2 separate regions of the Homo sapiens genome follow, and region 1 is linked to region 2. Evidence: promoter capture Hi-C in 16 types of primary human blood cells and fetal thymus (Javierre and others, 2016). All regions are on one chromosome and are shown on one strand. The core of a region is centred on a gene start or on the middle of the fragment in contact, and the rest is flanking DNA. Distances in the headings are between cores, read along the strand shown.

The links. Contacts are between HindIII fragments. The CHiCAGO score rates a contact against its expected background, and 5 or more counts as called.
Region 1: a fragment that was not itself captured here is called in contact with the fragment with the promoter of CH25H in region 2 in 1 of 17 cell types (naive CD8 T cells); the score reaches 5.6 in naive CD8 T cells.

What each region holds. Positions count from the first base shown.
Region 1 is chr10:88,907,121-88,912,025 of GRCh38, reverse strand. STAMBPL1 (STAM binding protein like 1) reads right to left here. Exons shown (of 11, transcript NM_020799.4): 4 at 3,249-3,324; 5 at 1,015-1,110. Among named protein-coding and RNA genes, the nearest start is that of ACTA2-AS1, 23 kb to the left of the region's middle. The HindIII fragment of the contact is 3,443 bases long and covers 1-3,310 here.
Region 2 is chr10:89,205,023-89,209,795 of GRCh38, reverse strand. It overlaps CH25H (cholesterol 25-hydroxylase), which reads left to right and starts at 2,479. Exons shown (of 1, transcript NM_003956.4): 1 at 2,479-4,167. The coding sequence starts at 2,504. The coding sequence ends at 3,322. RefSeq lists an enhancer at 2,638-2,707. The HindIII fragment of the contact is 3,745 bases long and covers 2,386-4,773 here.

The DNA of each region.
Region 1 (4,905 bases), core at 340-2,839, 300 kb after region 2:
TATCAAAGGCAAAACATGCAACAGCTGCAGAGCCTGTTCCTCCCAGGAAGATCATGAAGAGGAAGATCATACACATTGCTGACCGTGGAAAGGAGACTTGAACTGGGCTTTCGTCTCCCTTGCTGTTGTTGCTTTGTCTTACCCTCCAAGAAAATTTCTATCTTTCATATTTCAAGTCACATTATTAATATACACACTTGAGGGACATTTCCAATTTCACCATTCCCTCTACCACTTCGTTAAAACTCTCCACTCAAGCCAGCCTTCCACCTATGCCCATAGAAAGTCAAAAAGCTCAATGAGCATTCTCAGAGATGATGAGATTGAACTGAAGTGAGAGTCAGTGAAGGTGGTAACCCCTAAAGCAAATAAAACACAAACAAAAAAGCAAAATAACATCTATAATGATGCTATGTTGAACGTGAGTATCCCATACATTCACTGGCCAATTTCTTCTTCCAATGCCTTTCTGCCTCTCAGACATTATCATAATGTTCACTCTTTATTAATAACAATCCAGAAGCCACCACTTTTGGGTGATATGATTACATTTCAACCACAAGGTTAGCTGTTATTCTATCTCAATGCAATACTGACTGTAACATTCTAAGAATCAAATTCACATTTCTAAGGCCTACATCATTAGGCACATCAGAAACCATATACTGCTCTCCCTACCTCCTACTGGCTGTTCATCTGGCAAAAGAGCAGCCATCTGGCTCAAGGTTATCTGGCTCAAGAGTTAATCAAAAAGTTCTACTTAAATCGCTGCAGGAAATCTGTTTTCTAACACATTGCTTTGTTAGATATTGTAGGGAAATAGAAATACCACATTGTTGGTGAAACTGCTTAACCTGGATATCAGCATAAATTTTTTATTGGTTCCATATCACTGCATCTTTAATTTTTAATTTAAATGCACAAAACATTTGAAAAACTCATCACATAAAAATGAAATTCAAAAAATACTTGTACATAAAATAGTCATGAAATAAATGTACCAACTGAACTTACTTTGCTTTGCAAATATTCTTGGTATTCTACGTTATATTTCTTTAAAAGGTCGTTTTTCAATTCATCTGTCCTTGGGAATGCAATCTCCTTCAGTTTCTTTTAAAAATATATATACATATTGATTAGTGGGATTTTCAATACACTCTTTCAGATCATCAGGTGAGAAAGAAAAACAGCTGGTAGGTATACTGCAAATAAAGTCATGAGTAACCAAAGATGATGGCAGAAAAATAAATCTCTTTTTTATGGGTCCAAAATATAACTTTCCAGCAGGAAAGAAACACTATTATCCCTTTTGTAAGACCTTTATTGGCCCCACTGATTGGATAAGCATTTTGTTATAGCCCAATGCTATAAAATGTAAATAGCTAGAACTTTGTGGCTACCTTTGTGGTACCCCATTTTTAGGCAGTGAGTTTGAGATCAATGACTTGTTCTATAGTACATAAATCATGTAGCATCAGAATTAGAAGGGATGTGAGAGAATATATGGTGGATAGGGATTTCCAGACATGCTAGACTGTAAAAAGAATAGCTGAGGCACTTTTTATAAAAATACAGACCCCCCCAAGCCTAATCTGGATCTACTGAATTAACACCTGTAGAGAAGGGGTCTGGGAATCTGGATCTCAAACAGCTTCCTCAGAGATCGTTAATGGCAGGAAAATCTGGGAATTCTTATATAGTCCAACTACCTCTTCTTTTTTAGAGTTGAGGATACAAAGGCCTGGAGAGACTGAAAGTCCTGTTCGGTATTATGCAACCAGCTAGCGGCCCATTTAGGACTGGAACTCAAGTCTCCTGACTCTAGCTCTTTCACCAAATTTCTATTCTCTTAATCCTTTGTCATTCATTTATGTATTTATTCATATATCTATTCAATAAGCATAAACAAGGGAAATGTATATGGTTTTGGAGAATTTTTCTCCTACAAAAAAAATAAGCATAACCCTAAGTTATAGTACATGAGTCACCGTGACAGCCTGGTACCTTTGGTTTCCAAACAGAACTCTCTGAGGTTGAATGAACAAGAGAACTGAGGGGAAATGTTACACAAAGACATGATAATAAATGATACTTCAGGTAAGTGACTGTAGACATTAAAAAAGTTGGCTGGGTGCGGTGGCTCACACCTGTAATCCTAACACTTTGGGAGGCAGAGGCAGGTGGATCACTTGAGGTCAGGAGTTCAAGACCAGCCTGGCCAACATGGTGAAACCCCATCTCTATTAAAAATACAAAAATTAGCTGGGCATGGTGGCAGGTGCCTGTAATCCCAGCTACTCAGGAAGCTGAGGCAGAGAATTGCTTGAACCCAGGAGGCGGGGGTTGCAGTGAGCCGAGATTGCGCCACTTCACTCCAGCCTAGGTGACAGAGCAAGACTCTGACTCTAAATAAATAAATAAATAAATAATGTAGATGACCATTTGACAAAATCTGCATTTTGCTTATGCATCCTCAGGTCTGAAAATACTCATAGGAAAGCCTTTATTTCATTATTTGGTAAAGTGTTTTTCAAAAATTATTTAAAATTTCATGCTACAATTGGCTTTGTGTACATGATTTTATCTTCCTTCATATAAGACCAACACAAACTATTAAAGACAAATAAATGGGAAACATTGTAAATGTTTATTTAAAAGAATATATTCACAGCTAGACATAACCAAAATTATAGATATAGCAATTATTGGTGATAAATCATTAAAAAATTGATGATAAATTGCAACACTCTTTTTCCTTTATAGTATTTTAGTCTACCACCTCCTGCTTCCCCCACAACACTTTCTAATCTATAATTCCAGTCCTATAAGATGTAAATAGCTAGAACTTTGTGGCTGCCTTAATAACTAACACTAATTTTCAAACAGTTATTGAGTTCAGGGCTGTATAAAATAATCAAAAGCAGCCAAAATGACCATCTGAAAGAAGTTCGCAGAAATACACAACATTCTCTTAACCTCTGGGAGAGATTATTGTAAAATAATTCCTTCCTCACACTATTAGGTAACGTATTTCTTTCTTTTCCCCCAGCATCAATTAGACAAACCACACTGGCTCAGTGATGATCATTAAATGTCTAAGAAAAAATCGAAACATCATAGTTAATGGAATGAATTTCTTGCGCTCAAACTCTCAAGAGAAAGAGAAAGGGGAGGAAGGGGAAGGGTGAATCAATAATGGATACTTATGGAGCATTTGATTCCACAGTGGAGAAGAAAACCCACAATACCTTCATAATATCCTGCTTTTCAGGTACTGCACATTGCTGGTAATCTCGATGGTTAGGAAGCTTTTCTACAAATAAGCTAAGGAAGAGAAAACATGTCCTTAGCATTATGTGACAGCAAAAGTTCAATAATGCTTTCTAATAAGGGAATGAGGATCCTTTTTCAAAAATGACATGTTTAATAACTTATTCATTTACCTTCAGTCTTGCCATCTGCCTTTTCACTAAAGTCTGGCATGAGTATTATTTTGGTATTAATGGTTAAGCTCAACCAACTAAGCACCAAAGCTAACAAGATTAAGGTCAGGGTACTTTCCAAACAGTTCAAGTCACTTTGATCTTTCTCAGGTACTGCATGCTTAGCCCCAAAAGAGCACCACCTTACTTTAGCATACTGCTGGCAACAGAGAGAATCACATAAAAATATCAGAGCATGGAAAGAGTGATGTAAATCCCTTCTCACTCTTGAAAAAAACTCAAACGACCACTGATGAATCAGCAGCGCCATCGTGTATCAAAAAACTCTTAACCGAAAACTCATAACTAAGAAAAGTGACAACCAGAATCCCTAGTGAATTAGGAGTTGCTAATTAGGAATTCATTATTTTTCGTCACCGTTTGAGGAACAAGAGACAGCAGCAGTGAAAGGAAATTCCTACAGCAAACCAGGTGCATCGCTTCCAGGTAAAGTGAAGAAACTGCTACCACAAAGGCAGGGAATTCTCTTTTTTATGCACTGATGTATCCTCAGCCTGAAGAATAGCATCCAGCTCATAATAAGTGCTCAATAAATATTTGCAAAATGAATGAATAACCCTTCCTTGATAAATCATAATGAGCTGTAAATGCTATTTCTGATCAAACAATATGCCTTATACTTACTGATTCTGTAAATCAAATCATACACACATATACTCATCATTTAATTTCATCTGATCACAAGGTTATAGGTTAGACAGAAATGTTAGCATAATTCCCATTTTAAATGAGAAAATTAAGGCTTAAAGAAGCTTTAAAAGTTGTTAGCTATCTAAGCCTTTATAAATAGAATAAATTCAAAGACATTTAGAGCAGAGGGGACCTCAGAGATTTTCTCCCATAAATCTTTCATTTGTAGATGAGGAACTAAGGCCCAGGAAGAATAAGTGAATTACAAATTATCATACAACTAATAATACAAGAGAATTCAAATATTTTGATTACACAGTAATTCTGAGATATAGGGGCCTTTTCCTTTTCACCAGGCTCACAATTCCATAGGAACATATGCAAGATCAGAGCAGAAGGTGAAAAAGAAATATTATTAATTGGTAACTTATTCAGAAACAAAAATTATTGGAAAAGTTTGGCTATCAATGGTGGAGAATAACTTCTAATTTCATATTTATTACTTAACTTTCTAAAAACAAGTGATTTTCCCAGGTAGGGTGAAGGTTGCCAACCATTCTCTAAATTTTCAAGTTCAGTAACTTGAATAAAATGCAGATCTCAATTTTTGCATACCATGTAAACTGCCTTTAATTTTGCCCTCGGTAGAATCATGGAAGGCAATTTTTAAAATATTGTATCTTTCAACTTCTTAAATGTTCTCAGGCTAAGCCCCTGACTAAGCTAGTGATATTATATGTGAAATAAGCCAGGCACAGAAACACAAATACTG
Region 2 (4,773 bases), core at 1,230-3,729:
TTAATGTTGAGAAAGTGAGCTCTAATGGTCCGTTTGGAGCAGTGAGAAGGACGCTCTTCTCTGAAACACTGCATCAAGGACAAGACCACGTCTAGCCGGAATGAGAAGAAAAGTTTCTGGTTTACCCTAAAAGTGAAGTGAAAACAACACTGGGGAAGGGAGGAGATGTTGTGGGGGGTGGGGGCGCATGGGCGGTAGAGGTGGAGAGCCTTGGAAGGACAGGTTGTTTAACTGGAAGCAACTAGGGGCCTACATTATACCTATTTTCTGCTATCATCTAGAAATCAAAGCAGCAGCATTAGAAAAATTCACCCTTGTTCCCTTTTTGTATTGGCTGTCAAGAAACTCAACACTGCTTCTGAACCTTTATCTCATCAACAGCAAATATGTCAGCAGAATATAATAATGTTTTCATAGTACCCTGGGTTAAATAAAAAGGCTGCTGTAGGGCTAGAGGCTACTGCTGAGGGCTCCTGGGAATGAGCATCTAAGGAATGTCAGTATTCCATCAGTGGCAGTTAGTGGACACACACCAGTTAGGAGATTCTGAATTACAAATTGGCCTATTATATGTATCTATATCTTATATATTACATATTATGAATTGGCATATTATATATATCATATGTATGCATATATACCATATATGATCTTAGTTTTAGGCCCATATATTGGTCCATATTTTTGTAGTACTTGTTCTTTCCTCATAATAGATGGCGTTATATCTTTTATTTCTCTTTACATAATCTTACTTGATTTTAATTTCAAATTTCTCAGTTATTCTTTAGGTAACGTGTGGAGTACAAATTTAAAATACCATGCATATTACTTGGTGTGTTTGCTGTGTGCTAGGACCTATGATTTTACTGCTGTAAACCCACAGCAATAATAATAATCCTACTTCTTGGCAGGGTGAGGAAGCCAGCTTTTTTGAGGATTGGATAAAATCAATTCAGATAAAACATTTAGCCAATGCGTGGCACCTAGTAGGTGGGCTTTACACGGTAGACTTATTATTTTTCCATTTAATACTCCAATTTCCCTTTGTGGGGAATCGGGGGGATAAGAAAATGCAAGCTTCAAGGAGTAAAGGGCTGGACACAACCACATAGATACAAGACACTAAGCAAGAATTAGGAGTGCTCCCTGGCTTCAAAGCTGGTGTCTAAAACGTCTATCCCCTAAGGGGCCCTTGTATCGTGTCATGTGTCAGACCCCGGGTTGAACGCGAGGATTTTTGTGCTGTTCCCAGGGTCTCTCAAGAGCTCTCCTAGTACCGACCTCCTTGTGCTCGGTGGCCCCTGGCCCGAGGACCCCAGATGGGTGGCGGAGAAACGCAGGGGATAGAGACTAGCCCCCTAGCCGGGCTCCGTGGGCCCGGAGTGGATTCAAGGACCGGTGGCAGAGGGCGACTGCAAGTTGGCCCCGCAAAGCCAACAAGGGGAAGGGTAGGGTAGTGACGACATCACCTGGTCCTTCAATAGCCTCCCGGGAGGCTTCAGGAACTCACATCTCTTTCCCTTGACGAACAACGCAGGTGGTTTGCTGAATTAAGTGTTCCCGCCCCAAATTGAGATACAACGGGCTTTTTAGCCAGATTGGCGCAGACTGGGAGTTAAATCCAGCATTTTCCCGGCAAAGCTGAGCCTGGCCGCCGCGGAGCCCTCTTTCCGCTGTGCGGTGCCTCCGGCTCCGATCGCGGGCCCGGCGCCCCGGGACGCGCCGCCGAGGGTAGCTACGCGGCCGGGCTGCGGCCTCTCCCGGAGAGCCTGCGTGCGTGGTCTCTCTAGCTTGCTGCCCGCCGGCCAGGAAAACTCTGGGGACAAGCTGGAGCTGGCGGAGGTTCCCATCCGGCCACCCTTCCCGTCTGATTTCCTGAGCTGACGGTCACCGCCGGCGTTCGGGGACCAGCGGTTCCCTGTGCAAAGGGCTCGTTTCTCGATCGCCGCTGGATAGACCGCAACCGGGTTCTCAGAAAACACCCGAGCTACAGACCGCATGTAGCTTTAAACAGTTTTTAAAATGCGATTATGCTTGCGTCTTTATGAAAGCACATGGATGCAGTTATACGTATGCATTAAAAAACACAAACAATTCTGCATTGATTGCAAAGGAGCGCTTTCTGGTGGCAATGTAAACGGTCTAGTTTGAGACCCGTGATGACACACGTGAACTGAGTTGCCAAACTCATAGAAACTCCACACGGTAGATCTGTACATTGTGTCCCGTGTTAATTGTACGTCAACTGAAAAATCAGAACTTACATGAAAAGTACGAAGTGCCACTGCATACACGCATATCTAAAAGCCGGTAAGATGCGGCTATAGATGAGCACATTTACAGCAATGAAGGGCCACTCTGCCGGGTTGCTAGCTTATTCAAGCTTCGCATCGCCGGGAAAGGGATGGAAAGGCAGCTGACATCACTCGGGGCGGGGCCGTGAGTCCTGTGAAAAGTCGATGGGACTCGAGCAGCAGCCTCAGCTGCCTTGCACAGCCTCGCAATGAGCTGCCACAACTGCTCCGACCCCCAGGTCCTTTGCAGCTCCGGGCAGCTGTTCCTGCAGCCCCTCTGGGACCACCTGAGGAGCTGGGAGGCCCTCCTACAGTCGCCCTTCTTCCCGGTCATCTTCTCCATCACCACATACGTGGGCTTTTGCCTGCCCTTCGTGGTCCTGGATATCCTGTGCTCCTGGGTGCCCGCCCTGCGGCGCTACAAGATCCACCCTGACTTCTCGCCATCCGCGCAGCAGCTGCTACCTTGCCTGGGGCAGACCCTCTACCAGCATGTGATGTTTGTGTTCCCCGTGACGCTGCTGCATTGGGCCCGCAGCCCGGCCCTCCTGCCCCACGAAGCTCCCGAGCTGCTCCTGCTGCTGCACCACATCCTGTTCTGCCTGCTACTCTTCGACATGGAGTTCTTCGTGTGGCACCTGCTGCACCACAAGGTGCCCTGGCTGTACCGCACCTTCCACAAGGTGCACCACCAGAACTCGTCCTCGTTCGCGCTGGCAACGCAGTATATGAGCGTCTGGGAACTGTTTTCTTTGGGCTTCTTCGACATGATGAACGTCACACTGCTCGGGTGCCACCCGCTCACCACCCTGACCTTCCACGTGGTCAACATCTGGCTTTCCGTGGAGGACCACTCCGGCTACAACTTCCCTTGGTCCACTCACAGACTGGTGCCCTTCGGGTGGTACGGGGGTGTGGTGCACCACGACCTGCATCACTCTCACTTTAACTGCAACTTCGCTCCGTACTTTACACACTGGGACAAAATACTGGGAACGCTGCGGACTGCATCTGTCCCAGCGCGGTGATGTGGCTGCGGTGGGTGCCCCTAAGACTCGGGACTGCTGTGCCTTTCACACTTGAATGAAGAGAAACACCTGAGCTATATATTTTTTTAAAGCAACTAACTTATTGCTTTATGTTTATCTATGAAAACCATAGATAAAATCTGATGCATTTTTGTAATCTGACAAAGTAATTTACATACTGTTTGTGTATCAATACAATTTTGTGTTCTTGGTATTCTTAGTCTAGCTCACCTCAATAGCCTTGAATCCTGCATATGAATTAGACATTCATCACTGGCATATTTAGAATATCTCTAAAAGGACTTGTTTGTAGAATAAGGAATTTTCTATGTTTCAAAGTGTTCTAAAACCTGGCTAAAAGAATGTATTTTTGTGGATGGTGTTGACTTCTGACTCTAAAAGCAATCAAACATGTTTCTGCTGGACAGTGACCAAGAATTATAGTACCTTCTTATATTTTTTTATAGAACTGTATATTTATTTTGAAAGAAATGTTATTCGTGCTTTAAAAAGGAAAAAAAACCATGAATCAAATAAGTATTGACTTCCGTTTCACTGGTATTTTGACTGATAAAAAAGGGAAGAGGGAGCGGGCATACCAAGTGTCCTTCTAAGCCTCCATCAGCCTCACCATGGAAAGAGAGGAATCTGGGTGTAGGGTGTTCTGTTGGGGGTTGTTAGAGAAAAGGAGGCAGGAGAAGGGGCTCTGTTTGTTGTGCTCTAGCAATTTCATGGAGGAAAAACACGCTAATATTCTTAATGCTTTTCAGCTGATTTCTGTATAACAGGCAAATGATAGGATTACTCTGTAAAGTTTCATAGAAAGATTAACGCTGAGCAGTCAATCATTTTATTATTTGTGGGAATGGATTAGGGGAAGAACAGAATTGGAGGCGTGCCTTGCTTTGCAAAACTGGTGAGTCAATAGTATACACTAGAGTGGCTGATAGATGTGCAAGGGGATTCTGAGGAAGCCCCTGTTTTCATGAATCCATCCATAGCTACTGCAAATGAACATCAAAGCATTGCTTCTGAAATCTGGAATTTCTGTATATTCAGTTTTCTTAATTAAAACATACATGCAGCAGGTACAGCCCTTTCTAAAAGAAAGATAAAGTGAAATTTGGCCCTGGATCCCTGATTCCTCATGTGGAAAAGGAGGAGGTGTCCCAGATGTTCTTGCAGATGACAGTAAATATTCCTATTATTAACCACACACCCATCACCCATCACTCACCCCATCTAACTCCTGCCTATTCATTTTAGTTTTGTTTTTGGAATATATATAGTGTAGAGTTAAAAATCAAGACAATTTAGACACAATATAAAGAATGGCAGCTTTGTGTGTAATTCTTGGCTCATTATATTTGAACCAAACTGTCATGTTTAAAGGTAAAGCATCCATTTAGAGACCTGGTCTCCACGGTCTGCCAAATGAGACTCCCAAGAAA